2 separate regions of the Homo sapiens genome follow, and region 2 is linked to region 1. The links are contacts of gene promoters, found by promoter capture Hi-C in human tissues and cell types (Jung and others, 2019). All regions are on one chromosome and are shown on one strand. Each heading gives the region's core, a stretch centred on a gene start or on the middle of the fragment in contact. The rest is flanking DNA. Distances are from core to core; before and after follow the strand shown. Region 1 holds the start of KRTAP4-11 (keratin associated protein 4-11). Region 2 overlaps LOC105371777 (a long non-coding RNA gene).

The links. Contacts are between HindIII fragments. The study calls those that stand out against the background at their distance.
Region 2: a fragment that was not itself captured here is called in contact with the fragment with the promoter of KRTAP4-11 in region 1 in 2 of the 25 tissues and cell types used here (lymphoblastoid cells and mesenchymal stem cells).

Annotation. Positions count from the first base shown.
Region 1 is chr17:41,117,088-41,119,685 of GRCh38, reverse strand. KRTAP4-11 (keratin associated protein 4-11) reads left to right here and starts at 1,313. Exons shown (of 1, transcript NM_033059.4): 1 at 1,313-2,505. The coding sequence starts at 1,371. The coding sequence ends at 1,958. The HindIII fragment of the contact is 2,482 bases long and covers 1,251-2,598 here.
Region 2 is chr17:40,873,125-40,875,722 of GRCh38, reverse strand. The region is part of intron 1 of LOC105371777 (a long non-coding RNA gene); the gene reads right to left. Among named protein-coding and RNA genes, the nearest start is that of KRT12, 7.2 kb to the right of the region's middle. The HindIII fragment of the contact is 4,870 bases long and covers 1-2,598 here.

The DNA.
Region 1 (2,598 bases), core at 64-2,563:
AAACAAATGTAAGATATTTGGTACAATGCCTGCTACATAGTCAATACTTCACAAGTAATATACATACCATGAGGGTGTATGGAACTTATCCACATATTATACATTTCTTATTTTAGTTGTTTAATGAAAATAATTGTAATTCTTTTCATTTCTGCCAAACTGTTTCCTATCCATGTGTCTTATGCAAGTACCTGCAAGAAAAAGTTGAGGGTTTATCTGTTCTACACCCAGAGTACCCAATAGAACATCTTGGATGCATGTTATTGAAGGCTTAATAATTCTAAATATTCTTTATATATAACAAATGCTTTTGTAAATGAAAAATCCATCATGCAATTTTGATGATCAAAGATTAATCAGGCTGGGTGTTGGGGGCTCATGCCTGCAATCCCAACACTTTGGGAAGCCAAGGCAGGTGGATCACGGGGTCAAGAGATCGAGACCATCTTGGCCAACATGGTGAAACCCTGTCTCTACTAAAAATACAAAAGTAAGCTGGGTGTGATGGCGCAAACCACCTTACTCGGGAGGCTGAGGCAAAAGAATCGTTTGAACCCAGGAGGTGGAGGTTGCAGTGAGCAGAGATCATGCCACTGTACTCCAGCCTGGCGACAGATTGAGAATCTGTCAAAAAAAAAAAAAAAGATAAATCAAAACTTCCTACTCATAATGCATATACTGTAAGACATACAGCAAAATGTGTTTTTACCCTTTAAAGGCAGTGAGTCATGGGTAAGTACTTTCGCTGGAGGCTGTGGAATAAGATCTGACAGAGTTTAGAACTTCTTGGGATCTGACCATCTGCCCGACCATCCGAGATGCACACATGGGATCAGAGTCATCCTCATTACAGATGGGACATCCTTCCCCAAATGAGTGCTTCCTTCTAATTCCTTCCCAACATTTCACCTGACCAGGACATTCTTTGACAACAAAAGATACATTCACATTATAAAAATCATCCCCCATGATTTGCAGACAGCAATCTGCAGGTAGGAGGGAGAGTCACATTTAAAAACAAAATGTCAGAGAGTCCTGTGACCAGTGCTTTGTAAAAGACACTGCATAGACCAGGGACAAAGGTGACTCCCCACTAATGAAGAAATATGACATGCATTTCCAATGGAAACACAGGAGCACAGCAGGAAAAGGAAATGGGTTATTTTCTCTGTTTTGGAGTATTTAACTGGAAACACAATGATGTAATTACATGATTAATTTTTCCAGTAGGTAAATAATAACAAGGAAATAATGATGTGGTGGCAATGGGCCTTCAGGAGGGTATAAAGGGACTACAGGCCCAGGAGACTTCCAAACACAAGAACTTCACTCTCCTAGAAACCCAACTAGATCCTTCACCCTCTGACACCATGGTAAACTCCTGTTGTGGCTCCGTGTGCTCTCACCAAGGCTGTGGCCGAGACCTCTGCCAGGAGACCTGCTGCCGCCCCAGCTGCTGTGAGACCACCTGCTGCAGGACCACCTACTGTCGCCCCAGCTGCTGTGTGTCCAGCTGCTGCAGGCCCCAGTGCTGCCAGTCTGTGTGCTGCCAGCCCACCTGCTGCCGCCCCAGATGCTGCATCTCCAGCTGCTGTCGCCCCAGCTGCTGTGTGTCCAGCTGCTGCAAGCCCCAGTGCTGCCAGTCTATGTGCTGCCAGCCCACTTGCTGCCGCCCCAGATGCTGCATCTCCAGCTGCTGTCGCCCCAGCTGCTGTGTGTCCAGCTGCTGCAGACCCCAGTGCTGCCAGTCTGTGTGCTGCCAGCCCACCTGCTGCCACCCCAGCTGCAGCATCTCCAGCTGCTGCCGCCCCTCTTGCTGTGAATCCAGCTGCTGCCGCCCCTGCTGCTGCCTGCGTCCAGTCTGTGGCCGAGTCTCCTGCCACACCACTTGCTATCGCCCAACCTGTGTCATCTCCAGCTGCCCCCGCCCCTTGTGCTGTGCCTCCTCTTGCTGCTGAGCCCACTGCCCTGGCTCATCTCTCCCTTCACTGCAGGCCCACAGTTGTAGACCATTCTTCTGTGCTGACTATTAGGACACATGGAGTGGGATTGATGTCATTCAGCAGGGTGGACTTCATGTTTCCAATGAGCCCATCACCATCCCACTGACTCTGTGAGAACATTCTGGTTCATTTTAAACTCCCTCCCTTGCTTTCTTTCTCTTCCAGTCATGGCACCAAATATGAAATAATTTGTAATCCACTAGCTAAGAAATTATTCCAATCCTCTAAATTCCTCATTTTTTAAATCGTTTTGAGCCTACAGAATATCCTTCCCAGTGAGGTACACATTATCTCCATTTCAAACATATTATTTGTCTGTCAGCCTTTCAGTCATTCTTTTCTCTTGGAAAGGTAGGAGGCTGCCCCTCCCATGCTCTCCTGCTTTCTCCCTGTTCTCTCTTTGTCTCTGTTTGTTCAAGTTTGCCAGAATTTTTCTATTTTATTGGTTCTTTATCTTTATTGTGTTCACAAAATATATTGTATTAAACTTTTCATTTAGAAATCTTTTATTGTTTTTTGCATTTTTTTGTGATAATTTTCACTGAGTTTACTGATTCATGGGGGTGAGGTGGGAATGCAGTAGAAGGGGATTCTC
Region 2 (2,598 bases), core at 62-2,561, 240 kb after region 1:
TACTTAAAATGGAAATAGATTAAAAACAACATTACTGAAACCCTTCTCAAGGCAAAATGTGTCTCCTTTTGATAATAAGCTGCATATACTATCAGGTCCTCTCTTTCTTTATATGGTGAACATATATTTTTAATGAAATGTCTCTCATTTTTTTAATAACAGATTTATTGAGATATAATTCACACACCATGAAATTCACCCTTACAAAACGTACAATTCAGTGGTCTTCAGTATGCTTACAATGTTTTGCAACCATCACCACTATCTAGTTTTAGAACACTTCATCACCCCAAAAGGAAATCTTGTACCTATTAGTAGTCACCGCCTTTTCCCTTCCTCCCAGCCCCTAACAACCACTAATCTACTTCCTGTCTCTACGGATTTGCCTACTCTGGACATTTCATATAAATAGGTTAATACGATGTGTCCTTTTATACACAAATGTTCATAGCAGCATTACTCATAAAAGCCCCAAAGCGAAACACCTCAAGTGTCCATCAACCGATGAATGGATAAACAAAATGTAATATATCCACACAATAGAATCTTATTCGTCAATAAAAAGGAATGAAGTACTGATACATGCTATAACAGAGATGAACTTCGAAAACATGCTAAGTGAAAGAAGCCAAATCCAAAAACAATAAAAACACATATTGTATCCTCACCCTTTTTGCATTTTAGTGAGCAATCATTGCATATGAATGTTTATGGGAAAAATCAATGTGTGCTAAATCATTGTATTCCAGTAAATAGATTGGACTTAAAACTTGATACAGAAGTTGCAAATAAGTGGGATTGAGTTTGATTATTATATAGAAAATAATTACATGATTCATTTAAGAATAATAATATCCACCATTTATTGAGCACTTACTATGAGCCTGTGTGCCAAACATTTCATGCATTTCTCATTTAATTCTCACAATAATCCTGTGAGGTAGAAGCTATTAGGTTGAATCATATGAACTTGCCAATATATGATAATTTCTAAGAGTTGGGAATTTTTGAGGATGTGAATGGTACCACTTTGAATTCCTAAGATGTAATATAATATCTAACACATAGCAGGCACTTGATTCATTATTTTAAATTGAAAGAATAAAGATTTTTTTAAAGCTTTCCAATATATGATAATTTCTGACTTTCAGAAATAGCAATTTTATATGCTATTATATAGCATATATAATAAGGTTCAACCTTATTATGTTACCCCCACTTTACATATGAGGATAAATGAGGACTCATATGAAGACATGAGATAAAGACTTTCCCAAAGTCAAGCAGTTACCAAGTAGTAGAGCGAGACTGAACCTCAGCGCTGTTTCTCTAAAACCAGGACACCCTCATAAGCAACTAATTACATAACAAAGCAATACATGATTCACAGTTGAAATAGGCACTTGCCTATCCGCAGTTATTTTGTTGTTTTCTAATTGTCATTTTCATCAGCCAGACACAACAGCCAATTGTGGCAAATGTCCAGCTTTGCTGGCTAACATCACACATGACTTGATTCAGTACAACTTTTGTCAGAAAAGGTATTCTCACCTATTCTCATTGCCTTCTTTTCCAAAGTGAAAAGATTTCACTCATTTTTTTCTTAATTTTCTTCCAAGTCACGCTAGCTAGTAAGTTGCATTTAAAGATGTTAAGAATATTTAAAAGTGAATTCTTTTTCACCTACTGAGACACATTCCAGAATAGTCTGAAACTTTGACATGCAAATACCAGACTGTGAATCTGATTAATAAGAAACCTATGCAGATGGGTTTGTAACTGATTAGGCCTGACCACTGTTATATGGCAATGATGACACTGTGTTAAAAGAGGTAGGATTGTTATTCTTAATTTAGGATGGTCCTCTTTTAACTACCTGTTAAAAGAAGTAGAATTGTTATTTTTAGATCAGAAAAATGAAGATTTTTTCTTCCTCTTGCTTCTTTGGTCTGTCTCTAGTTTCTTCCAAGCAATCTTTCAAAGAAGTGAGTGAGAGCTACATACATGTGGACCAGATGGTGGAGTTCTACCTCCAGTTCTGCCAGCAGTTACTGTGTGAAAGTGAAGCATTAATCTTTGTATCTATCTATATTTCTGATATGAGCTAAGAACTAGAATGACATAATCCTATTTCTGACAGGTAAACAGATCCAGAGAGAAGTCTTTATCACACATTAGAATTATCATCAATGTATTTTTTCATTTTATATGAAATTGTCAGTGCAGAAGTGAAGCTATCAAACTCAGAGAGAGCCCCTAGAGGTGAGGTTAGGATGGAAATAACTATTTTTTCTGAGCTCTGGAGATTATTTCTACCCAGAGTTCTGAATCATCTAAAAAGGAGAATGACATGGAGTGATACAAAATCAAAACATGGCCAGTGACCTCCTCAGACACTCTGTTCTCATCCACATGCATCAGGATCAGCCTCAGGTACCTGATTAGACCCCCAAGTAACAATTCCAACTTAAAGCATTAGTAGTGATTTTTATTTTTGAATTCTCTTTCAAACATCTCTGTTTTCTCTCCCCTAGGCTCATTTCCAAGATTCCTCTCATCAGGGTATTATTTTATCATCTTCCTGTCTCCTACCACTTT